7 separate regions of the Homo sapiens genome follow, and regions 2, 3, 4, 5, 6 and 7 are each linked to region 1. Evidence: promoter capture Hi-C in 16 types of primary human blood cells and fetal thymus (Javierre and others, 2016). All regions are on one chromosome and are shown on one strand. The core of a region is centred on a gene start or on the middle of the fragment in contact, and the rest is flanking DNA. Distances in the headings are between cores, read along the strand shown. Region 1 holds the start of PLCL1 (phospholipase C like 1 (inactive)). Region 2 overlaps LINC01923 (long intergenic non-protein coding RNA 1923). Region 3 has its middle 92 kb from the start of LINC01923. Region 4 has its middle 110 kb from the start of LINC01923. Region 5 has its middle 150 kb from the start of LINC01923. Region 6 has its middle 170 kb from the start of LINC01923. Region 7 has its middle 190 kb from the start of LINC01923.

The links. Contacts are between HindIII fragments. The CHiCAGO score rates a contact against its expected background, and 5 or more counts as called.
Region 2: a fragment that was not itself captured here is called in contact with the fragment with the promoter of PLCL1 in region 1 in 17 of 17 cell types (M0 macrophages, naive CD4 T cells, M1 macrophages and 14 more); the score reaches 52.3 in M0 macrophages.
Region 3: a fragment that was not itself captured here is called in contact with the fragment with the promoter of PLCL1 in region 1 in 14 of 17 cell types (M0 macrophages, M1 macrophages, M2 macrophages and 11 more); the score reaches 26.5 in M0 macrophages.
Region 4: a contact is called between a fragment that was not itself captured here and the fragment with the promoter of PLCL1 in region 1, in 5 of 17 cell types (M1 macrophages, M0 macrophages, activated CD4 T cells and 2 more). The highest score is 12.4, in M1 macrophages.
Region 5: a contact is called between a fragment that was not itself captured here and the fragment with the promoter of PLCL1 in region 1, in 1 of 17 cell types (M0 macrophages). The highest score is 5.6, in M0 macrophages.
Region 6: a fragment that was not itself captured here is called in contact with the fragment with the promoter of PLCL1 in region 1 in 2 of 17 cell types (M0 macrophages and M2 macrophages); the score reaches 8.8 in M0 macrophages.
Region 7: a contact is called between a fragment that was not itself captured here and the fragment with the promoter of PLCL1 in region 1, in 5 of 17 cell types (M0 macrophages, M1 macrophages, activated CD4 T cells and 2 more). The highest score is 9.7, in M0 macrophages.

Annotation. Positions count from the first base shown.
Region 1 is chr2:197,802,716-197,806,503 of GRCh38, reverse strand. It overlaps PLCL1 (phospholipase C like 1 (inactive)), which reads right to left and starts at 1,911. Exons shown (of 6, transcript NM_006226.4): 1 at 1,165-1,911. The coding sequence starts at 1,404. LOC105373828 (a long non-coding RNA gene) reads left to right here and starts at 1,958. Exons shown (of 4, transcript XR_001739850.3): 1 at 1,958-2,795. RefSeq lists a silencer at 1,735-1,864. The HindIII fragment of the contact is 1,428 bases long and covers 891-2,318 here.
Region 2 is chr2:198,303,904-198,307,691 of GRCh38, reverse strand. The region is part of intron 2 of LINC01923 (long intergenic non-protein coding RNA 1923); the gene reads left to right. Among named protein-coding and RNA genes, the nearest start is that of LINC01923, 69 kb to the left of the region's middle. The HindIII fragment of the contact is 756 bases long and covers 1,535-2,290 here.
Region 3 is chr2:198,281,178-198,284,965 of GRCh38, reverse strand. No RefSeq gene overlaps it. Among named protein-coding and RNA genes, the nearest start is that of LINC01923, 92 kb to the left of the region's middle. The HindIII fragment of the contact is 6,399 bases long and covers 1-3,788 here.
Region 4 is chr2:198,263,737-198,267,524 of GRCh38, reverse strand. No RefSeq gene overlaps it. Among named protein-coding and RNA genes, the nearest start is that of LINC01923, 110 kb to the left of the region's middle. The HindIII fragment of the contact is 5,198 bases long and covers 1-3,788 here.
Region 5 is chr2:198,223,262-198,227,049 of GRCh38, reverse strand. No RefSeq gene overlaps it. Among named protein-coding and RNA genes, the nearest start is that of LINC01923, 150 kb to the left of the region's middle. The HindIII fragment of the contact is 4,801 bases long and covers 1-3,788 here.
Region 6 is chr2:198,205,279-198,209,066 of GRCh38, reverse strand. No RefSeq gene overlaps it. Among named protein-coding and RNA genes, the nearest start is that of LINC01923, 170 kb to the left of the region's middle. The HindIII fragment of the contact is 7,841 bases long and covers 1-3,788 here.
Region 7 is chr2:198,183,845-198,187,632 of GRCh38, reverse strand. No RefSeq gene overlaps it. Among named protein-coding and RNA genes, the nearest start is that of LINC01923, 190 kb to the left of the region's middle. The HindIII fragment of the contact is 1,199 bases long and covers 1,219-2,417 here.

The DNA of each region.
Region 1 (3,788 bases), core at 662-3,161:
GTCAGTGTTGGGAAAAAGACTTTACTGGAGCCACATTCTGTGGTTAGTCTACCTAAGCTGGTGCTGGGAGCTTGCAACATGCGTGATGCACTGGTTACGCAGCTTAACCCTGAACAGAGCTTTTGAATATATTAGTGAACCCAATAAATTCAATAGTAAGTAAAAGTCCATCTTTCATTGTCATTGAGGGATGTGTGTGTGTGTATGTACACACACACATATATACTTACATATATACATACATACATATCGTTTTATACTGACTGCTCCACCAAAATCAATTTTAATCTGACATACATTTGATTGATTACTCACATGCATTTACACTGAGGCCCTTTTCCAGAGCCTGTGCGAGGGTTCTTTCCTAAATAACCTTACCCCAAAGTCATGCTCCCAAAAGAGGAAATCTCGAACAGAAGAAACAAGCCCCAAGTGGAAGGAAGATGGAAAGAGAAAGGGGAGGAAAGAGGTTTACAAATTCCTTGCCAAATGGATGGAGAGAAATTCTGTGAGGTGATTAGCGGGTCAGGAAGCGTTTTCCCTGGATGTGGTGGTAACCACAAGGACCAGTGATAATGCTTGGGGGATTGATTGCTTTCCGGTTGTGCTTTCTGCAGCGCAAAAACTCTGGGCTCTTGCATTGCTCTTTACTGTGATGCAGGGTCCACTTAAAACTCTGCCTCCCTACCGGGAAAGTTCACACATCTTGGGATTTCGGGATCATTTAAGTCTAGAGGGATTCTTTTTTTACACTTGAGAGTAAGCTGTGCATTTTCTTCATTGTATGGGAAAAGCTAACCCTTCATTGGAAAGCAATGCACAACCATCCGGTGGGTCTGCATTTATCCAGAGTTCTCCCTTCCTCCCTCCATCAACGGTTTAGTGAAGCTTGCAGAGAAAATGAGGGAAAGCATCCATCAGAACGCAAAGACGCAGAGCGGAACTTTTCCTCTGCCGTCAGTGGGGAGAAAAAGTCACTTGTGCGTCTCGTGGCTGACAGCTGAGTCTGGGAACCTCCGGATAAGGAAGGAAGGTTTGGCGTTGAAGGAGGTGGGAGAAAACAATGCTGAGCCCGGATGCCTCCGGACACCGCACATCCTGCCCGGGTCCCTGACCCACCCATCACCCACAGCCACGCTCCCGGTGCGGCGCGGCTTTGCTTACCTTGATGATGCTGCTGCGCCGGGGGGTCGCCCGTGCTGCCTCCAGGAGGCCCGCCTCGCTGTCCGCTGGGGTCCCCGCGGCGCCTGGCAGTGCGACCCCGCTGCGACGGTCCCTCATCCGGCCCCCAGAGGCCGCCGTCACGCAGTCCCCGGCGGCATCCGGGCCCACTCGGGGGTCGTCTTCGCCCCCCGCCGCGTCGGGCGGCGCCGGATCCTCCCTGCCGGCCGCGCCCTCGGCCATGGCCTGGAGCGTTTAGGGCTCCCCGGGGGAAAGCGGGACGCCCGGCAGCGGAGTCCAGCCGCTAGGCACCGGTGCGCTCCTGCACCGGGAGGCGGCCCCGCCAGACTTTGTTTCACCGCCCAGCGGCGGCAGTGGCGGCGGCGGCGGCGGCGGCGGCAACTTTCTGGAGAGGGGACATCGCTCGGGCAGAGACGTCCTCGGGCTTCGGTCTAGGAGGCTAGCAGTCCGGCGGGGGACGGTGGCGGGAGTGGGGAGGCGATGTGAGCGGGAGGCAGAAGGAGAGGCGAAAAAGAGAGGGAGGTATCCGAAATGTGATGCAAACGCCGGCCCTGCGCCAGACAAAAGGCACCGGGCGCCCAGCCAGGCGGCCTCTGGAGCCCGGACGCCGGCGGCCCGATAGGGGCCAGAGCCGGGCGACTGCGGCCGGGCGCACCCGCCACCTGCCCGCGGACTGCGGCGCAGCGGTCCCAGGAAGTGCGGCGGCGGCGGCGGCCTCCACTCAGCTCTGTTGTGACAGGGAGGGAGACTTGTTTTGACAGCCCTTGGGGATTGGCAGGCGTCTGGGCCTCTTAGGAGCCTCGCCTCGCCGAGGGGGCTCGGCCCGACCAATCCTCACTGCGGAGGGGTGTGCCCGAGCGCGAAGAATGGAATGTGTTCTGCAACTGGGAGCCGGCCCAGCGGGGCTAATGTACTCGAGCCAGGGTGTACCCGCGCGCGCGCGTGTGCAAACCCGGAGGCGCTCCGTGTATATTTTAGGAAGTTTAGATTTGCGAAATGAGCCTGAGATGCAACAAAAATCCAGGTTGGGTGAAGGAGAGGGGAGAAAGAAACCTTCTTCTGCCAAACAAAGCAATTTGGAGGAAAGTGGGTATTGAGTATGAATGTCTAAGCGTTTGGGGTGACGGGGTGAAGCTTTGCGTGGTCACAGGTTAATTGCAGGCTCTCAGGCCAATTCTTAGAAGTCAAGTCCATGCAGAGATAAACTAGGGTTTACTGGGATCTTGGGGTTCCATAATTTGCTTCAGGTTCCAGGAAAGGATTCTAAGGTCATTCTGCAGTGTGAGTAAATATAACAAGGAAAGGGAGTCAGTGAAAGAGATGAGGGTGAAAGGAAACTGAACCAACTAAATCCCTCCGAAGACTGACTCTTAAAAAGCACAGATATAATCCAAGTCAGATAAATGCAGGTGGGGAGTTTAGTCTCTATCCTAAAACATTCCTATTTGACAATGGTTCAGCCTCCTTTCTCTATATAATCCTATATAAAAACATATTTTGCTCATTTCCAGTAAGCTAGCAACCAAGAAGGGAGAGATCTTTGGATGATGAGTTAAGTCACTGAAATTATCCACAGAATGCTCAGATGCAAACCATGGTCCTAAGGCTCCCTGGTAAGACAAAAGACTTGGCATTTTAATTTTAAACTCCTTTGATATTAGAATCTATATTAAACCTCACTTATAACATTACATTTTATCTTATTAATAATTTAATAATTTGAGATTTTACTTGTTCCTTAGTCTGGCTAACAGCATGAGAAATTATTCAGCATTTTAGACCAACAATTTGGTTTGAATCTCATAATTTTAGAGATATATGGGGATTTAGGGATCAACTAGGACATCATTTTTGTTTTACGGTTGAGACAAAGGCCCAGGGAGTCTTGTCTACTAGTTAGTGCAGGAGCCAAAATTAGAATCAGCCACCCAACTCCTCCGATAATCTCTTCACTACTTTATCTGTCTCCTCTGGGCTACAACCAGCCAGAACTGGCAGGGGCACTTGGGAGGTTTCAGATTTGACATTTATCAACTACTAGGGAATACTGAGAAGGCTTGACTTTGCCTTTTCTTTAAACATAAATGCAGCCTAGTAATGAATGTACTGTAGAGAGTAGCAGTGACCTCTGGTTTTAGAACCAACACCACCCTCTAGTGAGATTCTGAGAACTGCATCCATAACAGCAAAGGCTTCTTTTTCCCCCTCATCTTTAAAAGACAGGAGGGGTAACCCAACAAAAGTTTCCTTTTCAACAGGTATGCCTTTACAACGCACAGACTAGAGGAAGAAAATAAAGTGTACCCAGACTTAAAACAACCATACATGTCTTCCATCTCCTTTAGTTCAGGGAATTCCTGTCTATGCTATATAGGAAATATTTTTAATTGCTATCCTCAGAAATATATCTTATTTTAGGCTATCATTTTTTTCTTTGATATTCAACTATTATTACATTTGACTTCTGTCATTTACAGTTGTCAGTGCTTCATTTTTCTTTGTTACTCTAATAAAAGTCCCATTCTTCGGTTGTCCTCTGAAAAATGTAAAACTGCCTTTATCTCACTCATTATCTTGTTATAGGATATTAATGTCATTTATAAGTT
Region 2 (3,788 bases), core at 663-3,162, 500 kb before region 1:
GGAGCTTGCCTCACCCTAACCTCACTGCAAGGTACCAGGTGGGTCATGCACCCCTCATTACACTGAATCTGCCCCTCCTCCCCTCTCTACTGTCACTCTCTAGCCTGTGACCTCCTTTGCCTATGACAGTGTCCTCTCTGGTCAGCCTTATTCCAGTCCTCCCCACACCCTTCTCCCCAGTGCAACCACCACCTTCTCGCCAGAGGAATCAAATCACATCACTCCCTTAAACCTTTGGGTGGCTGTCACTATGCCTCCCCTTTGTCACTGTCATTCTTTTAAAACATAATTACTTGTATTTCCTCAACCACACCCCCATTGTGTACTACTACACGCCTTTACAGAAGTGGCTACCGCTTCTTGGAATGGTCTCCTCTTGTCTTCTCTTCTCCTTCTCATGCAAATCCAGTACAAGCATTGCTGCGTCTGAAAGCCTTCCCAGCCAACCCCTCACAGCAGAATTCACCACTGCCTCTTCCAGGAGGCTGCTTTGCATTGCATCCTGTGATAATAATCAGCCCCTAGTTGATTCATCTTTGCCTACCAAGCACATGGCCCAGTGCCTGGCACACAGTGGGCCCTTGCAGAGTGATTACTTGAGAGAAGTGAATTGAATTCACCAGATGCCTAGGTGCAAGCTGCCATCCTGACTACCTATTAGTGAGAGGGCTGCAGGGGGTGGGGAAGGTGTCTGTTCACATCCCTAGCTGGAGCCAAGGAAAAGATCTTCCATCTTTCCTTGAGGAGTGGTCAGAAAATCTAAAGTTAATGATCTGGTGCCTGCCTGGCTGGGACAAGGGTCACAGGAAGGCTGTGCCTGGGGAGTGTGTAGGGCTGGAATTAGGGGATAAGAAAGAAGACAGGATATCCTGGACTGACAGAGGAAGTGAACTCAAGAAAAACAGAGGCCATCAGGCCTGAGTTTTTGAGAGAAAGATCTGGAGTAACGGAGAACCTGGGAAGTGGTAGCACAAAATAATGGTGATGATAACAGCAGCCATAAGCAAGACTGAAATAGAATGTGTGACAGAAGTTCAGAGGTAGCAGGAAGAGACAGTGAACGAGAAGATACAATTGGAAAACCTTCTGTTGATGGGCGAAGAGCCGGCAAGTGGAGAAGAGGGTGGCGGGTGAAATATTTTTGTTTTTAAATCAATAACTTGTCTTAAAATGACAACTGAACTTGCTATTAATTAATTTTCATACTCATCTTTTTTTGTGTGTTTGTTTTTAGTTTAGTTTGTTTTGTTTTTTGAGATGGAGTCTTGCTCTGTCAACCAGGCTGGAGTGCAGTGGCACAATCTTGGCTCAAGGGATTCTCCTACCTCAGCTTCCTGAGTAGCAGGGACTACAGGCACCCGCCACCATGCCCAGCTAATTTTTTGTATTTTTAGTAGAGACAGTATTTCACCATGTTAGCCAGGATGGTCTCGATCTCCTGACCTTGTGATCCGCTCGCCTCAGCCTCCCAAAGTGCTGGGATTACAAGCGTGAGCCACCACGCCCAGCTTCATATTCATCTTTCATAAAAGCTTCTTTGGGAATGATAAGCCCTCATATGACACAACTTGATCCTCTCTTTGAAGTGTCTATGAATTTTTCATGGCTTCCAACATTAATTATATTGTTTTATCATCACTTCTCTTTTTGGAAACACTCCTAAAAATGTTTTAGAATGTGGGCATGGAAAAAAATTACATTATCTTAAATTACTATGAATGAAGAAGGTAAGAACATTCAAGGAAATGGCAAAGAGGGAATTAAATGCAGGTTTTTTCCAGGTAACTCCAGCAAACACTAACAAAGGGATGACTTGAGAAATCAATAATCTGGTTCTTCTTTGCCTATAGAATCAAGTTGGTTCAAAAATGGAGCCAAACGTTTTACATTAAGAACAACTGGCATACTAAAATAATTATTTATAAGTAATAACATGTTAGTCTGAAACTTTAGATACCAGTCCTGACTCTCAGGACTGGGAAAACGCACTTGGCCCAGCTCAGAAGCCACTGAAACACTGTGGGTTTGGCACCTCATGTCAAGCCCAATCCCTTTGCTATTTGAGTTCATTTATTCTTGGCAAAATATAACTTCCTGCCCCTAAGAAGAAAGATTTTTAAAGTCTCATAAAAATGATTCCAAAGTTTACTTGGACTTCAAAAGGCTCTTACAAAACAACATTTTTATTAGTTAAATTTATGGAATATGGTGCATAAGGATTACATTTTCTTTTATCTTAAATAAATAACAATTAGGGCAAAACCAATGGGATGTGGAGTTGGGAGAAGCTTGGCAAAGAAAAAATCCACAGGGGACCACTTTGCCATGAGTTACAGGAAAAATAGAATCTCCAGAGAGGGAGTGTGCTCTCTCTAGGAACTCTAGAACTGGGACGCAGCTCAGTTTTTCTTCAGATCATCAAAGCCCAGCGCTTACTACCAAGGGAGATGTCCTTACACTAAGGTCTCTGTATAATAGCTCACATCAGGTCTGGTCCGATACCAGAAGGCAAAAAGAACCTGATAATGTGTATTGCTGACATCTTACTGGGTGCTCATGTTCTTCAAAAGATGAAAAGACCGAGTTACCTTCTCCAGTAAAGGCTGAGCACCAGCAGGAAGAGCTGAGGTGTGAACAGGAAAGCCCCAGGTCATGAGTCTGCCTATTTTCACAGCCTGGGCAATACCCAGTCTCAGAAAGAAGATCCCAGGAATGTGGCTCACGCCTTCCCAATGCCCACTCTACTTGATTATTAATCTTAGATTTTAAGTGCTGGGTTAGGTTAAAAGTCTTGAAATTTAGCGCACTAGATTTATTTAGTATAATAGATCTTTGTTAACCCAGCATTCATTGTGTGACTTCCTGAAGATGCCAGATTGTTTAGGAAAGCAAAAATCACCATAACATTAAGTGTTTACTAGTAATCTGACAACTTATAAAAATTAGTCCCCACTCCAGGAGTGCTCCTGGCTGGGTCCATCCCCACATAAAGCCAAGGCTTTGTTCATTAATTTTTCCCCAGATAGTCTGCTGTTGGAAATGTTGAACAGTATAGTGCTACATGCTGCAAATTGATATAAGTCTTGCAAAAGATGCAGGCTTTCACGGTGCCAGTGAAAGTGACGTTGGTGGATCTGCTGGAATTGCAGGCAAAGCCATTCCATATCCTGCCCTGGAGGTGTCTAAACAGACAGCTGCAGAGAGGGACTGCCTAGGGCCCCAGGTGTGATCACGGAGAGCCTGTGCCAGCAAGGCTGATGGCTGAGGAGGTGGTGGGGAGGGGAAACTCAGAATTGGTAAGCGAAAGGAAAACACTCAGAATGGGTTGGGAACATCCTGCAGGTACCAGAAAATGAGGATAATGTGAAAAATATAGTGACAATGATTAAAAAATCAAAGGATCTGACTTAAGGGAATTCTCATGGAAAAGTTGTGATAATTCAAATATTAAATAATTATTATTGTTACATTATAATTAAATAAAAATAAAATTAGTGTTAGGTATAAAATAAAAATAGTATTAGGTAATTGGAATGATTTGATCTATGAAAGATTGAGTTCAAAATCAAAGTCAAAGGAGAAAAGCTAAAAGAAATAGTAAAAAAAAGGAAACTTATAATACAAAAGAAGAATGAAAACAGGATTTATGTTTGTCATTATTTCATGAGGTAAGGGATGTATATATGCCTATATGTATACCAATGTACATACATATGCATATATGAATTATATGCACAAATTTTGCTGCTATATTAGTTTATAAATATGTGTGTATATAATATATATGT
Region 3 (3,788 bases), core at 911-3,410, 480 kb before region 1:
TTTGTAGAGATGAGGTCTGACTATGTTGCCCAGGCTAGTCTCAGACTTCTGCGCTTAAGCGATCCTCCCACCTCGGTCTCCCAAAGTGCTGGGATTTCAGCTGTGAGCTACCATGCCCTGCCTGTATATATGCTTCATTACATAGTATAATATCTATCACTGATACATACATATATACATATACACATATGTATATGTATGTATGTATATGTATACATATCAGGTTTTTGAAGAAAACCAACATCATAAAAGAACAGGAAGCAAATTGTATTATTGTTTGCAATTTTTTACTTCCCCTTCTTCTGATGGGATTATATAACTCTATTGATTGTCTATTCTTCTATCTGTAAGTTATGGAGCCTCCTGTGGAAGAAGCGTACTTCCTATCCTCTTGATATTGGATTTACCTTAAGACTTGCTTTGGCAATAGCATGTGAGCAGATATGACGGACCCCGTATCCAAGCAAAACTATTTTTTTTTTTTTTTTTGAGACAGAGTCTCACTCTGTCACCCAGGCTGGAGTGCAGTGGCACATCACAGCTCACTGCAGCTTCTACCTCCCAGGCTCAGGTGATCCTCCCTCCTCAGCCTCCTGAGTAGCTGGGACTACAGGCACACACTACCATACCCAAGTAATTTTTTGTATGTTTTGTAGAGACAGGGTTTTGCCATGTTGCCCTGGCTGGTACAAAACTCCTGGACTCAAGCAATCTGCCTGCCTTAGTCTCCCAAAGTGTTGGGGTAACAGGTATGAATCAGCAAAACTTTTAAGAGCCTTTGTGTGTTTCTATCAGTCCTCCTGCTCTTTTCCTTCTTCCTCAAGAAAGGCATAGCCCATTTTAAGCCCCCTTATTTAGCCTCTTGGGATGAAAAGATACAGGGAGCAGGAGTGGAACTGGTACTGACTTTCAGCCAACCTAAACAATAAACAAGAAATACACCTTTGTTCTTATGAGCCATGGTGGTTTCTGGGATCACTTTTTACCACAGGACAGCGACAAATACAAGGAAGAAGATTAATAAGCAGCATAAGGAAAACTGGAAGGAACAGAAATAACGAGGAAAATGGAAAAAAGCCCAAATGTATAAGGAGTAGCCTCAGGATGTTTTGAGAAGATATTGCATCCATAAGCAGATTAGACTGTGATGAAAATGAGTAATCAAACATTTTTAAAGAGTACATAAAATTTAAAATCTTACCTGAAATAAAAATAGAATGGCCGGACTGTACAATAAAATCGGCACAGTAAAGACCAGGTGATCTAGAATGAGGCTTCTCAGCTTCAGGGTGTGTACTAGTCCCGGGGGTCTTGTTAAAATGCAAATTCTGATTTCATACATCTCAAATGGGGCCTGAGAAAATGCATTTCTAACATGCTCTCAGGTGATTCTGATGCTGTTCATCAAAGATTCAGAATTTGAGAACCACTGTTTTAGATTCTTGCCACTCAAAGTATGTAGTAGCTTCCACATCACCTGGGAGCTTGTTAGACATGTGATACTGATCCTCAGACATGCTTTGAGTAGCAAGGATATAGAGGCATGTCTCTCAAATTGTCGGCCCCATCCCATTAGCCTCAGAATCACCAGATAATTTGTCACAAATGCAATTTCTTGGACCCCACTCTAGAACTGCTGAGTCAGAGCCCAGCAATTTATTTTGTAACATGTCTCCAAGATGATTCAAATGCACAATACAGTTTGAGAAACACTGAGTTAGAAACAGTAAAAGGCATCTTTTACAAAAAACATATATGACTAAAAAAACAAAAAGAAAATGTGAGAAAAAAAGTAAAACAACAGATGCTAGACCGTCTGTCAAAAGAAGTCATAGAAGAAGAGAATAGGTACAGTGGAGGTGAGAAGGGAGAAGTTTCTCATAAAACACCAAGCAGGATGAATAAAGTGGGCACACATCTACATACCAGCATATAAATGTGCAAAGGGATAGTTCTAAAATCACCCATATAGAAAACATTTCTTGTTCAATGAATCCCAGGCAATTCACTAACTCTTTTAATTTATGAACTCTATAACTTGAAGCTGGTACTTCTAGCCTCCTACCCAAGATGAGTAACATGGAATTAAAATAAGTAAAGATTAAAACCTCTCAATGTTCCTCCCACCTACTCTTTAAATTACTTTTAAAACTTGTTTGGCAAATTATTTGGTGTTTTTTAGATTTATTCAGGAACACTGGAATAAAACAGGCGTGATGTCAGATAAAAGTTAGAGCTTACATATATTTTTCTTGATGAGGTAAAATTGCTTAAATTATATGATATTTGGGTTTTTTTACCTTTTAAATTTATCTATTATACCAGTTTTTTAAAAATACAAGTAATTTTAATTGCCAGTTGTTAGAGAGAAGCCAATCTAGCTACAATTTCTTTAGCAATTTTGAGTCTAGCAACATAAATATTAAACTATGTATTTACTCTTAAATGCATATATATTACATTTTAAAAGATACAAGATTTTAGACAAAAAATTTAGTCTATGAAGGATTTTATTTTTATAAATTAGAAAAATTGAACATATATTTGTAGGAGGCAGAGGTTACAGATATGTGAGAAATTTTCTTGACCTTTATGCAATTTGACTATGAATTCATTGTGACTCAGTTCCAAACTGATAAGCATTCATTATGCACTTGGAGGCTCTGAGACAGCAATAGTAATGACAGCCACTGTCAACTCGTGGAGCTTACATTCCCCCGTTGAAAGCAAGCAGGAGAACAAGTGAAGAAAGAAACTCACTACAGATAGTGATAGATGCTACAAAGGAAATGAGCAAGGTGCTGGGAGAGAATCAAAAAAGTAGAGGGGCATCCTTCCACAGGAGGTCAGCAGCCCAGGTAGGGTAGAGACCCACAGGATGGTCAGCAGCCTTTCATGCGGAGTGAGGGCAGCTCTGGCAGGAGGAGGAGCAATGTACAAGTCCTGAGAGGGGAAAGAGTTTAGGGTGTCCTGGGAAGTCAACAGACACCAGTGTGGCTGGGGTATATATTAAGTGGCAAGGGAAAGGCACCAGATGAGGTTAGGAAAATAAGCAGGGGCTAGATATGTTCAGGCCTGATGACTATGGTAAGGAGTAATTAAAAGCCATGGAGAGTTTTAAGCAGGAGACATTATTTAATTTCTGTTTTTAAAAGATCACCCTACACACCCATTAGCATGGTTATTATATTAAAAAAAAAAAAAAAACCTGAAACAAAGTAACACATGTTGGCAAAGATGTGGAGAAATTGGAATCTTTGTGCATTGTTAGTGGGAATGTAAAATAGTGTAGCTACTGTGAAAAACAGTATAGCAGTTCCACAAGATATTAAAAATAGAATTACCATATGATTTAGTGATTCTACTTCTGAGTATACACTGAAAATAATTGAAAGCAGGGATTCAGACAGGTATTTGAACACCTATGTTCACAGCATCATTATTTATAATAGCCAAAAGATGAAAACAATCTAAATGTCCATTAATAGATGGATGGATAAACAAAATGTGGTATATACATATATGGGACATTATTCATGCTTAAAAAGCAAGGAAATTCTGATGCATGCTACAATAAGGATGAACTTTAAAAATATCACACTAAGTGAAATAAGCCAGACACAAAAGAAACAAATACAGGATGATTCCACTTACATGAGGTAACTAGAGTAGTCAAATTCAGAAAGAGAAAGTAGAATTATGGCCAGTGGGTGCTGGGGAGAGGGAGGAAATAGGGAGTTCATTATTTAATGGTTACAGAGTTTCAGTTTGGGAAGATGAAAAAGTTC
Region 4 (3,788 bases), core at 875-3,374, 460 kb before region 1:
GAAAGGCCATAATACTAGGATTATGGGAGGGACCTGAATTCTGCTAAGAGATAGGTGTAGTTTCTATACTCCCTTACTGCTCAGGAATCATGTAGCTAGAAGTCACAAGATTTGAGACTTTCCCAATTGCTCCTATAGATAGCATTACTATCATAGAACCTAAGATTTTGTGGTTTTTTTTGAGATGTTTTTCAGATGGATCCAACCCAGCTTTGAGACTCATGACTCAACTGGTCTAGTCCTGTGGCCCCACTCAGAGGCAGATTCAGCACACAAAGACCATTTTCCACACCCCTATGGATTTAACCCTAACCAATTAGCAGCACCCGTTCCCCAGCCCTCTGCCCACCAAACTGTCCATAAAAACTCTAACCTTCAAGCCTCTGGGGAGACTGATTTGAGTGATAACTCCAGTTTTCCCATGTGGCTGATCTCTAGTCAATTAAACTCTCTTTACTGCAGTGCCTTGGTCTCAGTGAATTGATGGCTGTGCAGCAGACAGGAAAAGCCCACTGGGTGATTACAGCTGAGCAAATGGCAAAACTGGGATCCAAACATAGTGGCATTCATAATCTTCCTCTTAATTTCCAGGCTAGAGCACCCAAGCAGAGAAGGTGCCTATGGAGTATATGAAAATCGCCTGTATTCCTTCTGTACTTAACATAGGACCATAAAGTAGACTGCTAAAGCAATGCGCCCATAGTAGGGGTAGTGTTAGGACTATCTAGGGTTTCAAAACTGTTGAATCTGAATACCTTTTGATGAGCAGCAGCCTCAAATTCAGCCACAATCACCATCTCTCCCTGATTTTTGTATTTCCCCCATCCTCACTCCCTTCAGGCATTTATGTCACCTGCCTGACCTAAGAAAGCAATGGAATTTGCAACCCCAGTTTCAACTTAGATAAAGGCCAAAACTACTTTAATCTTGTTCACAGTTATTTCCCAGTGCTTAATACAATCACTGACACATGGCAATGTCTGGTCATCAAAATAGGATCCAGTTAGAAGTGACAGTGAGCAAACAGGGTCAGAGAAATTATAGTTGCCTAGTATCAGAAAGTCAGAAGGGAGCAGACTTAGGACTCTTTATCCTCAGACTCCAAAGCCCATGTTTTAAAAGCTCACTACAATATGATGTGGAGACGATGTTTCATTCTGTCTGTTTATAGTTTTGGTTGGTTATTTCAAATAAAGCTGTGATATATAAATAAAAAAGAGAGATTGGCTTAGGAGAATAACTTATCTTTTGACATAATGAATCAAACTTTACAAAATGCATTGGTACCAGACACAGTGGCGCTGGCCTGTAATCCCAGCACTGTGGAATGCTGAGGCAGGAGGATCACTTGGGCCCAGGAGTTCAAAACCAGCCTGGGAAACATAGTGAGATCCCTTCTCTACAAATAATTTTTTAAAATTATCTGGGCATGGTTGGCACATGCCTGTGGTCCCAGCTACTCAAGAGGCTGAGATGGGAGAATTGCTTGACCCTGGGCGGTTGAGGCTGCAGTGAGCCATGATCATGCCACTGCACTCCAACCTGGGTGACAAAGTAAGATCCTGCCTCAAAAAACAAAACAAAACAAAAAAACACATTACTGTCATATGTGGCATCTGGGGCCAGGAGAACTCTGCATAGTTCTATTCTCTAGGAACTTATCTCTAGAGAAGCTGACTTGGATCAGTTAAAATCATGAGCTATCCCAATCATGAATAAAGTTTTGCAAAATAAGGTTAACAAGTCCTATACCCATAAGATTTCAAAGATTGGAAGTCTATGCAGACTTCCTTATCTGTGTGCACTTTCTTCAGACAACTGGCCTATGAAGGAAATAGATGGACAATAAACCAAGCCACAGACCAGATAATTACCAGTTTGCCAACCTCGATTATGATTTATTAGACAAGAAAGTATAACAGTGCTACTCAACTATTAAACAACCTCTGATTTACAAATGTCATTGTTCTGGCCTAACAGGCATTATGGGATGGGATGAAAAGGGAATAGTGATGAAGTTAATGGAGGTTCTACACATTTTTCAGGAAATCACACAAGAACTTGCAGCAAAATAATAAGTTATAAAGTTATCAAGATGGATGTAACACAGAGATAAAATGGTATACGTTAACAAGGGCCAGTGGGCTTTCCCCAAAAGCCTTTAAAATAGTGCATGCAACAGATTTAAACCATTTTAATCACAGATTCTGGCATATTGTTTAAAATAACACAAGGCCCAGCACGGTGGCTCATGCCTGTAATCCCAGCACTTTGGAAGGACAAAGCAGGTGGGTCACTTGAAGGCAAAAGTTCGAGATCAGCCTGGCCAACATGGTGAAACCCCATCTGTACTAAAAATACAAAATTAGATGGGTGTGGTGGCACGCACCTGTAATCCCAGCTACTGGGGAGACTGAGGCAGGAGAATCTCTTGAACTTGGGAGGCAGCGGTTGCAGTGAGCCAAGATGGCGCCACTGCACTCTAGCCTGGATGACAGAGTGAGACTTCTTCTCAAAAGAAAACAAAACACAAAATATAAATTTAATGGAAATTAGGTCTCTCTAATAGAATGTTCTACTTTGTAGCATTTTTCAGAAATGAAATTATTTAAACAGTAATTTTAATTTCCTCTTGTATGTCTGTTTTCTTTATTGACAGAGATCCCCAATCCACATGCCCCTTCCTTCTTAGCATCAGAACTCCAGTTTTCTTTGGTTCAGCAACGCACTTAGCTACAAGGCTGAAGTTCCAGCTTTCTTTGCACCTAGGTATACCCATGCAGTTCAGTGGTCAGATATATAAATTGAACTCCCATGTGGAACATCTGGGAAGGCTGCTTATGGGAACTGACTCAGCTGGGAGAAGGAATATTTTGTTCTTTCATCCTTTCTCCTTTTTTGAGATGGAGTCTCACTCTATCCTCAGGCTGGAGTGCAGTGGCACCATCTCAGCTCACTGCAACCTCCACCTGCTAGGGTCACACAATTCTCCTGCCTCAGCCTGCAAAGTAGCTGGGAGTACAGGCATGAGTCATCACACCCGGCTAATTTTTGTATTTTTAGTAGAGACAGGGTTTTACCATGTTGGCGAGGCCGGTCTCAAACTCCTAACCTCAAGTGATCCGCCAGCCTCAGCCTCCCAAAGTGCTGGGATTATAGGAGTGAGCTACTGTGCCCGGTCCCTATCTCCCTTCTTTCTTGCAGCTGGCACAAACCGAATGTTTAAGATGCAACTAAGACAGTGGGGCAGGAAGAAGGAGACCAGGGAGATGCCAGAACAGCCCTGAATTCCCTAACTCCAGACTCCCTATTTCTGGGAGAGAAAGAAACCTTACTATTTAAGCTAGTATTATTTCTTAATCGCCACAGCTGAACCATATCCTAAGTGATAGACCACAGGGATCATAATCTCCAATATCAAGATACAATATGTCCATCCTGGCCAACATGGTAAAACCCCGTCTCTACTAAGAATACAAAAATTAGCCAGGTGTGGTGGTACATCCTGTAATCCTAGCTACTTGGGAGGCTGAGGCAGGAGAATTGCTTGAACATAGGAGGCAGAAGTTGCAGTGAGCCAAGATTGCGCCACTGCACTCCAGCCTGGGGACAGAGTGAGACTCAGCCTCAAAAAAAATAAAATAAAATAAAAATAAATAAATAAAATATGTGTTATAATTTTTTTGGAGGGGGTGCATTTTCAAAGTGGTGACTGCTAATCTTTATATCATTTAAATTGATTTAAAGTGGTTTGATTCTAAACTCACTGAAATCTCTCCACAAATAGT
Region 5 (3,788 bases), core at 554-3,053, 420 kb before region 1:
GGTCCCAAGTCTTTCACCAGGCTGGAGTGCAGTGGCACAGTCACAGCTCACTGCAACCTCAGTCTCCTGAGCCCAAGCTATTCTCCCACCTCAGCCTCTGGAGTAGCTGGGATTATAGTTGCACACCACCACACTTGGCTAATTTTTTTATGTTTTGTAGAAACAGGAGTCTCATTATATTGCCCAGGCTGGTCTCAAACTCCTGGGCTCAAGGGATCCTCTTGCTTTGGCCTCCTAAAGTGTTGGGATTATGGGCGTGAGCCATCATAACCGGCCTTGATATAGAATCTTAACAGTGGCCATACAGCGGGGCCTCTTTGCAAGATGACTGTATCTTATTTTGCAAACATATCTCATAAGTAGTCGCTTGTATTTATCATTTTGATTCTGAATATTAAGCATTAAGTAAATACTTGCCATAAAGTAACAATGAAGCAGAGATCAAAGATTATTCCATAGCATAAGCATGGGATAATCAAGTTAAAGGTGGGATAAGGATCAAGGATTCTCCACAAAGCAGTGTACAGAGACCTATGGAAAGCAGGCTGAGAAGTTAGTGAAGAAATTTAAAATGCCTTAGAAATATGATAGCTAGCGCCTATAGGTCCACTTTTTTTAAATTTTTAATTATGGTAAAAAAAACATATACACACAACATATAATGGACCATCTTAACTGTTTTTAAGTGTGATGTTTAGGAGTGTTAAAAACATTGACATTATTGTATGACAGATCTCCAGAACTTTTTTATCTTGCAAAACTGAATCACCGTACTTATTAAGCCAACTCCCTATTTTCCTCTCCCCCCAGCCCCTGGCAACCACCATTCTATTTTTTGGCTCTCTGTGTTTGACTATGTTAGATGCCTCATATAAGTAGTATCATATAGTATTTGTCTTTTCGTAGCTGGCTGATTTCACTTAGCATAACGTCCTCAGTTTTAATCCCTGTTAGAGCACGTGGTGGGATTTTCTTCTTAAGGCTGAATAATAATCCACTGTATATATGTACCACATTTTTTTATCCATTCATCCATTGATGGATATTTGAATATGCCCTCTAATTTTCTAAAATTCAGCATAAAGTATTTTAGGAAGTGTGTCAGTTATGATGCTATTATTTCTCAGCTTCAAACCAACCCTTCTATAAACTATTTCAGGCTATTGGACCTGAGACTCTGTGAATCCCATTTCTGCTTTGCAGGCTGACTCCCTGTTAGGTTTTGTCAGTAAGGGGGCGCAGGAAGAGTGCTACTGGGGGAGAAGGAAAGCACTGTCTCCTTGACCCTATTGCTTTTTGTACTCTTGCAGTTCCTGTGTCACCCGTGCAGTATACTGCACCAAGCAGGGCAGTTCCCTTCCGTGCAGTAGCAGCAGCTCAATGCAGTTTGCAGTTTTTCTAACACTTGCAGAGCCAGCCTTAGTGTACCCCCATCAGCGGACCAGGGTCTTTCCATCTGCCTGACTTTTACCTGTACAGGTCTCTCCTCCAAACTTCTGCCTTTCAGAAATTTCAACCTGTACCTTTTGCCCCCAGCCTTAGTGGAGGGCAGTAGCCTCTGAGATGGAACGGTGTTCTCTTTTTTCCTTTCCAGTTATCTTTCCATATGATTCTCTATATGAAATTCACACTGTCCAAATAACTTGTCTGGTTTCTCCCTCCTGACTCACCCAAACTGATAAATTATGCAAACATGCCACCTGAAATTCTCAGAACCTTCCAGAAAGCAAGAACAAGCCTGAGTGTAGCCAAATAACTGAACACATCTGTTTAATCATTCATAAGATGAAAGTGAAGATTATGGCACAGTGTGGTAAGCCTTATTAAAAGGAAATGCAGGTTGTTATGGGAAGTCAGACGAAGGGCTCAGAGACAGAGAGCAGTCAAAGACAGCCGAGGGAGGCCACCTTGCACCTATGCAGGAGTCAGAGTTCAGGACGGGCTGGGGACGCTTCAGGTCTGCACTCTCCACATCCAGATAGGAGGTCTGCACCATCTAGTGCTGCTTCTGCACTCTGCCGTCCCTCTCTAGGTGATTCTCTGTGGTCATCCCTGAAGTTACAAAAAAAGTGTGTGTGTGTGTGTGTGTGTATGTGTGTGTTCTCCTGTCTTCTTTACATTCTGAGTTCTACAAGACAGCAACAAGAACAACAAGGAGACTTTTGTCCTATCTTTATATCTCTTCCAGCCCCTGGGGGATGGGGGCAGACAGAGGAAACTTGAATAGACAGTCTAGGTCTCTGTGTGCTACAAAAATTCATTCAGATGGGAGGTGTGGATGAGCAATCACAGGGACAAATCCACAGGTGCTCATCAGAATAATAACGACATTTCCTACAGAAGGGCTATGTGCCAGGCATTGCCCTGATTGCTTCATATCCATTAACTTCTATTTTTCAAAAACATTAATATCATTATTATCATTACCACCATCTTACTGATGCTCAAAGAAATTAGACTCAAAGAGAGGTTAAGGAGCTTGCCTGGCCTCACACATGCAGGATTTGAACTGTTTTCTCTGACGCAAGAGGTTGCAGTGTTCTCTCTACTGCCCCTGCTACTGCTCATTTTTATTTTTTTTATTTTTAAAATTTTCTGTTTTTTTTTTTGTTTTTTTTTTTTTTGAGATGGAGTCTAACCCTATTGTCCTGGCTGGAATGCAATGGCACAATCTTGGCTCACTGCATCACTGCAACCTCCACCTCCCTGGTTCAATCGATTCTCCTGCCTCAGCTTCCCAAGCAGCTGGGATTACAGGTATGCACCACCATGTCTAGCTAATTTTTTTTATTTGGTTTGGTTTGGTTTTAGAAACAGGGTCTTACTACATTGCCCAGGCTGGTTTCAAACTTCTGGGCTTAAGGGATCCTCCTGCCTCAGACTCCCAAAGTGCTGAGATTACAGGCCTGAGCCACCGCACCCAGCCTACCCACCCATTTTTATAAATGAAAATAATTTTAATAAAGTATTCTGTCTACTGATTTATCTTCTATTCTTATACTGTTTTAGATATAATGTTTAAGAAATTTTTTTAAACCCTGCTGTTGGCTTTTAAATATAAATTGACTCTTGCTTGACAGTAGAAACTATTCAGTTTATGATAGTATGTATAAATATAAAATTATTTTTACATTAAACTTTTGGGAGTTAGACTAATAGAGATATTCTGGAGAGTAACATTCTGGCAGTACGTAGTCAAAAAAAAAAAGTGTGCACATACCCTATGACCCTACTATCCCTCCCTCTGGGTATCCATCCCACAGAACATCACACAGTCTAGAAGAATCTTCATTGGAGCTTTGTGGTAGTAGAAAACAAGCAATCTGGTTGTCCACCTTAAGGAAGTAGATAAGTTAAAAAGTAGGTAAGGGCTGTGTGTGGTGGCTCATGCCTGTAATCCCAGCACTTTGAGAGGCCAAGGGGGGTGGATCACCTGAAGTCAGGAGTCTGAGACTGGCCTGACCAACATGGCAAAACCCCATCTCTACTAAAAATACAAAAAATTAGCTGGGTGTGGTGGCAAGCTCCTATATTCCCAGCTACTCAGGAGGCTGAGGCAGGGGAATTGCTTGAACCCAGGAGGCAGAGGTTGCAGTGAGCCTAGATAGCACCACTGCACTTCAGCCTGGGTGACAGAGCGAGACTCCATCCCAAAAAACAAGAAATAAAAAATGTAGGTAAGTGTGGTGGATGCATATTACTGAGTTCTATGCTAGAAAGCCAAACAATTGCATTTCCCAGACTCTTTTGCAGCTAGAAGTTAAAATAGAAGTTAATGGATTGATGCT
Region 6 (3,788 bases), core at 374-2,873, 400 kb before region 1:
TACAACTTACTCTGCCCTCTATGTGAGTAAAGGTTGAACAACTTGCGAGGGTGATTCCACTCCCTACTGCCCCTGGATCCTCAAGCAAGGCCTCAGTAATGGAGGCTAAATTTTGCCTGTTGGCTAAGTTGTCTTAGATGATAACTTGGAGGAGAACTGCTTTCCAAAGAAAGTAAGTGACCTGCCTGAGGAAGGTTCTATTAATTTGAGAGTTGTTTGTTTGTTTGTTTGTTTGTTTAATGCTTGGGTGGGTAGCATTATTATTTTTAAGCCTTTAGGTTCAACTTACAATTTCTTTAAATTGTTATGAATCTAATAATTGTTATATTGTTAAATTAAATAAGCAGGAGGCCATTGGCCCAAAGTGTTCTCCATACTTTGAGTTCCTATGTAACAAAACACAGCTAACATAGGATGTAAACAAACTGAAAACCTAACTGAGGAGTATAACAAACAACAGAGTCCAGCCAGTGAGCAGCTGAGCCTCAGCCAATCACAGGCAGCCAGGTGATCAGACCATATCCAAAAAGGCAAACACCTAGCTTAAGCAATCAAGCTATTTCTGTACTATATTTCTATACTTTACTTCCATGTACCATCTGTAAACACTCATTGTGCACTTTGCAGAGCAGAGCTCTCTGAACCTCTTCTGATTCTAAGTGGTGCCCAATTTATGAATCATTTTTTGCTAAAATGTTAAATTTGTCAAAAGTTTTCCTTTTAACATATTAAAGTTTCACATTTGATCAATAATAAATTAACTGACAAGGCAATTTATAAAAAAGATACCTACCAAGACTAAACCAGGAAGAAATTGATTTCCTGAACAGACCAATAACAAGTTGAATGAGGAAACTGAATCAGTAATAAATAACCTAACAACAACAACAAAAAGCCTAGGACTTGATGGATTCACAGCTGAATTCTACCAGATGTACAAAGAAGAACTGGTACCATTCCTACAGAAGCTACTCCGAAAAATTGAGGAGGAGGGACTTCCCCCAACCCAGTTCATTCCGTGAGGTCAGCATCCTCCTGATACCAAAACCTGGCAGAAACACAACAAAAAAAGAAAACTTCAGGCCAATATCCTTGATGAACACTGATGCAAAAATCCTCAACAAAATACTTGCAAACCAAATCCAGCAACGCATCAAAAAGTTTATCCACCACGATCAAGTAGGCTTCATCCCCAGGATGCAAGCAAGTTTGGTTCAACATACACAAATTAATAAATGTGATTCATTGCATAAACACAACTAAAGACAAAAATCACATGATTATCTCAATAGATGCAGAAGATGCTTTCGATAAAATTCAACATGCTTCATATTAAAAGCTCTCAATAAATTTGTATTAATGGAATATACCTCAAAATAACAAGAGCCATCTATGACAAACCCACAGCCAACATTACACTGAATGGGAAAAAGCTGGACGCATTCCCCTTGAAAACCAGCACAAGACAAGGATGCCCTGTCTTACCAGTTTTATTCAACATAGTATTGGAAATCCTAGCCAGAGCAATCAGGCAAGAGAAAGAAAGAAAGTACATTCAAATGGGAAGAGAGGAAGTCAAACTATCTCTGTTTGCAGACGACATGATTCTATATCTACAAAACCCCATATTCTCGGCCCTAAATCTCCTTCAGCTGATAAAGAACTTTATGAAAGTTTCAGGACAAAATCAACAACAAAAATTACTACCATTCCTATACACCAACAACAGCCAAGCTGAGAGCCAAATCAGAAAGGCAATCCCGTTCGCAATTACGACATAAAGAATAAAATACATAGGAATACAGCTAATCAGGGAACTGAAAGATCTCTACAATGAGAATTACAAAACACTGTTCAAAGAAATCAGAGAAGACACAAACAAATAGAAAATCATTCCATGCTCATGGATAGGAAAGATCAGTATCATTAAAATGACCATACTGCCCAAAGCAATTTACAGACTCAATGTTATTCTTATCAAATTACCAATGATATTCTTCACAGAAGTAGAAAAAACTATTTTAAAATTCATATGGAAACAAAAAAGAGCCCAAATAGCCAAGGCAATCCTAAGCAAAAAGAAAAAAGTTGAAGGCATCACATTACCTGACTTCAGACTATACTACAGGGCTATAGTAACCAAAACAACATGGTGCTGGTACAAAAAAACAGGCTCATAGACCAATGGGACAGAATAGAGAGCCCAGAAATAAGGCCACACACCTACAAATACCTGATGTTCAACAAAGCTGAAAAAAACAAGCAATGGAGAAAAGACTCATCTCCACTAGTGCTTAAATATTTTTGTTGTTAAAAATGGAGAGGATTTACCGTCTCAACAAAACTGAGGTGGTTGGGTGGAAGGCCTGGGATGGTGATAGGTGCCTTATCTGTCAAAAGTTCTAGGCCAGGACATGGGATCTGAGGTAAATTACAGGATGAGTCTACTTAAGCCACAGGTGAATACTATGAGCCCTTTTCTCATAGTTATTCACAATCTGTGATGTCAATGAGCAAACCTAAGTCCACACCTTTTAGTTAAAATGTATTTTGCCAACCAAGTCAATATGCAAGGTATCTGTCAAGTTTTACCTTTACCAGTGTTTGCTGTTCCATTTGGGTAGAATTCTGGGCTTCTTTATTGCAAAACTTTATTTCACCACTATCTGTTTATTGAACAATAAAATTATATATTCTTTTCATATTCACTTGCCTGCTTATGGTCATTCTATTGACAGTTATGAGTGCTTAAAAGAGAAAGAGAAAAAATGCAGAGCTGGAGGTAACTGTGCTGTCCTTCTCATTCTCCCTCATGTCTACTAGGACCACTCTAGTAGACATGGGGTAGGGGGTGCAGAAAGAGGCAAACGTAGCTCTACCCAGTAATGAAACACTGCCAATGTCCTCTGTACCTTGATGCTTGTGGTGGTCCCAGCCTGCCCACCTGCTTCTCACTTGTGTATGTACTGTCCAAGAAAACCTGCCTTGATTATTCAGACCTCAAACAACCGTTTGCTCAAGACATAGAGGTATAAACATGTGAAAATTATGATAACTACTAGAAGACCTAAAAACAGAGAGGGCGGGTTAAATTGGAATACAGAAGGATTACAAATATTTTAGTTCATTTTATGTCCTACATGTCATTTTCCCCATGGTTAGCATATAGTACATAAATAATAAAAAGCTCCAAGAGGGTTGATACAAAGTCAGTTTTGTTCACTGCTTTATCCCCAGTGATTGGCCCACAGCATATGCTGAATGGGTGAAAGATTGGGTGGATGAATAGGTAATGAGCCATTCACACAGTGAAACACCACACAGCAATTAAAGCAAATAGTTAAATCTCTGAATTGATATGAAAATATGTTATATTGTTAGTGTTTTGGATGCAAATAACAGAAAAATTCCCAAATCAATAAGACATGTAAAATAAAAAATTCTCATATAAGGAGTTCCTAAGGAGAGGAGCTATAGTTAAAAAAAAAAAAAAAAAAAAATTCCAGGCCAGGCATGGTGGTTCATGCCTGTAACCCCAGCACTTTGGGAGGTCGAGGCAGGAAGATCATCTAGGACCAGCCTGGGCAACAAAGTGAGACCCCGTCTCTACAAAAGAAATAGAAAAAAATTAGCCAGGCATGGTGGTGCATGCTGATAGTTCCAGCACCTCGGGAGACTGAGCTGGGAAGATCACTTTAGCCCAGGCAGTCAAGACTGCTGTAAGCTGTAATCATGCCACTGCACTCCAGCTTAGGCAACAGAATGAGACCCTCTCAAAAAAAAAAAAA
Region 7 (3,788 bases), core at 569-3,068, 380 kb before region 1:
GTGAAGGTGCTATGCAGACAAGAGTAAGGGACAAGGAGGGCCTGGGCTGTGCCTGAGCTAGCTTTATTGTCCCTACTGTTAGAAAACTAAAAGAACTGAAAGTAGGCTGGGCTCTGTGGCTCATGTCTGTTATCCCAGTGTTTTCAGAGGCTGAGGTGAAAGAATCACTTCAGGCCAGGAGTTCAAGGTCAGCCTGGGCAACATAGCAAAACCCCATCTCTTCAAAACATTTAAAAAATTAGCTGGGCATGGTGGCATATGCCAGTAGTCCCAGCTATTCAGGAGGATCACTTGAGTCCACAGGTTCAAGGCTGCAGTGAGCCATGATGACGCCACTGCACTCCAGGCTAGACAACAAAGCAAGACCCTGTCTCTAAAAAATAAAAATTTAAAAATAGAAATGAAAGTCAACAACTTATAATGAAGACAAACACCAAAGACCACCATAGAGAAGGGCAACGAGGGCTTCAGGACAGTGCCCAGCCTGGATGTGGTGAATTCCTTCTTTCTCCTTCCCTAAAATGTTTAGAGGGCTATGGGTCAGATTTTAGGGAAAAATGAAAGAATTCATTAAACTAGAGGTTCTGCAAATAGATAACAGGTGTGCCACAAGATATTGATGTTTGTACTTTTTCTCAGTGGTGACAAAACTGAGTCATTTCCAAATTTACAACAGTTGAAATTATGCTTGACAAGTATTTTCGTAAAGGTCTCTCTGAATGTTTCCTAAACACATGAATTCTTATCTTGCTAGTAAGCTTGGATGAATAGCAATCTACAGAGAGCCGTCTATAAGGGCTACGATATGGCACAAGTCCAGGTGTGTAATACAAAATATAATTTTCCTATGTGCTCCATGAGGTACAAAGACAGGTGGCACTAGGTTAAACTCTCGTTTGTTTTTTAGAAGGAATGTGATTTATGACTAAGTTTTATTTACCACAGTGTCCTTGCCACCTAGCAGAGAGCCTGGCACCATAAAAAGTTTACTAAAATCTTGTAGAGGGGAAAAGCTGACTTAAGAGCCCTGGGAAGCTGTTTTAGGGTCTCTAGTGGCCACTTTGTCAGCTGGAGGTCCACTTGGGGGCTGGGGATACCTTCAGTCTGCAGGTTATTTTTGATTCTGAAGAGTTAAAAGGAACTGGAGCAGGGCAGAGAAGAAGGAAAGCTGGCTGCTTGCCAGAATCAAGAGAGAGAAATAAAGGGGATTCCAAAGCTTTCCTTGAGCATAGTTAGCCCAGGCTTTCCAGAGAGGAAAGATGGCTGAGACTCTAGAGGGATCTAACAACCACATGGTGGACAGTAGAGCTCCATGGTATATACACTTCGCTTTTACACATTCACCTATTTCTACTCCACAACAGGGAGTGAGAGAGTGGGGGTGGGAGTGGGGGAGAAGGAGTAAAGAGAGGAGACTTGAAAGAAAGAGAATAAATGGGAAATTGCTACATTGTTTTCCATGCACAAATGGGAGATATATATCCATTGTTCCCTTAGCCATTTGATACCCACATGCCTCTCACAATATAAACATCTTGCTGAACTAATCGCTTCAAACATTTAATTTTTTGTAGAGTAAGGCATCTAAACGTAGGTACTTAATCTAGTGCTAAATTATAGAAACAGAAATCCATTCTAACACTTTGTCAGACTTGTAAGAGACGGTGTGTTGATCTCTACCATGACACCTTCCTAATGGATTTTCAAAGGTTTGACCTCATAGCCTGGGCTTCGTATCTAACCTCAGGAGACATTTGGCATTGTTACATTGCTCAGGGACCTGGTCCTGATGAAGCCCTAATTTTGTTCATTTTTCTCTGAGTAGCTATGTTCTCTTATTGAGGTTACCCTCAGCCCAGGGACTGAATCATGACTGATTCAAGCCATTCATGGTTGTTTTATTCTCTTGCCAGGTAATTGGTTTAAATATGAATGTATAATATAATTCTGTCCAGTTATAAGTGAGGGGAAATCAACTGGGATGATTCTAGAAGGGTTTTCATTATTCTTAAAAATCAAAAAAAGCAAAAACAGGAATATTTCCCCTTTTCTACCTCTGGATATTCTTGTCTTCGTAAGATTACTTGGAACCAAGCAGCCACTGTCAGAATCAGCAAAAGAGGATAACAGAAATAAAAGTGTCTCTGTTGACATTTGAGGCAAACTTAGAATTGCCCTACCTTCAAACTTCTAGGTATACAGTATAGTAAGTAGTCTTATTATTTAGGCCACTTTTTGGTGTGTTTTCCTTTTATTCCTTATAGTCTACGGTAGATTAAATATGTCTATAAATTATTTACTTCTCTTATTGAGCAGTATTGTCCAATTCCTCTCCCCTTGAATCCAGGTGGGCCCTAGTGGCTTGCTTGATCAATAGAATACAATGGGAGACTTATGAGCTCGGGTCATATGAAGCTTTGCAGTTCCCATATAGTCTTCTTTTTATTTACTTATTTATTTTTTTAGAGACGCAGTCTCACTATATTGCCCAGGCTGGTCTCAAACTCCTGGGCTCAAGCAATCCTCCTACCTCAGCCTCCCAAAGTGTTGAGATGACAGGTGTCAGCCACCATGCCTGGCATCCATACAGTCTTCTTGAAAGGCTCCCTCTGAGAGACAGTAGCGGCAATGTAAGAAATTCAACTACCCTTAGACTGTGATGCAGTGAGAAGCCCAAGCCACATGGAGAGGAAACACATAGGTACTCTAGTTGATAGCCCAAGCTGACTTCCTAGCCAGTTTCAAAGACAAATTGCATCAAATAAGTTAAGCAGGCAAGAAAGACTTTATTCAAAACTACTGCAATAGGGAAGAGAGATGGAACTGAACTCTGAATACAACAGTAGTAGCTGGGGGTTTATAGCTAATGGGCAGGATAAGGAAGTCAGTGGATGGAAAATTAATAAGGTGAACTTGACAAACTGTAAAGGTAGAAGATTCTTGCTAAATTCACTTGGCAGGATTCTTGATAAAACTAGGCTGGACAGACCAAGAACAAGAGGCCGAGGATGAGGTCTGGCAAAGAAGACAGCTTGGAGAAGCCTGACTGAAGTTTGTTCAAGTAGGGAGTCCTTGTCACCAACAGCCACATCAACTGCTAGTCACATGAGTGACCATCTGGGATATCCAGCCCAGTCAGGTCTTTAGATGACTCTAGCCCAAGCTGCCATCTCACTGCAACCACACAAAATATACCAAGCAAGAACCACCCAGCTGAGCCCCATCAAATTATAGAATCATGAGTGATATAACAAATTGTTTTAAAACACTAAGTTTTACAGTTTTTTTTATGCAGCAGTAGATAACCAAAGCACAACCAAAAGCATTCCAAGTGATACAAAGATCTAGAAGATATGAACAAATTTCTTTTCACACAAGTATCTTCTGAGGAATTCAAGTGTTGAAGTAACATAATGAAAAGAGTACCAGGACTACTCTAAGGACCTGTACCACTGCAACAGGAGAGAGGGTGCTGCTAAGGTTTGACATATAAACAAGTGTATCGGTCCATTCTTACACTGCTATAAAGAAATACCTGAGACTGGGTAATTTATAAAGAAAAGAGATTTAATTGGCTCAGCTTCTGGTGAGGCCTCAGGAAACTTGCAATCATGGCAGAGGTGAATGGAGAGCCAGGCATCTTACATGGTGGAGCAGGATCACGAGAGAGAGTGGGGAGGTGCTACATACTTTTAAACAACAAGATCTCACAATAACTCACTATCATGCGAAGAGCACTAGGGGGATGGTGCTAAACCACTAGAAACCAACCTCATGATCCAATTCCC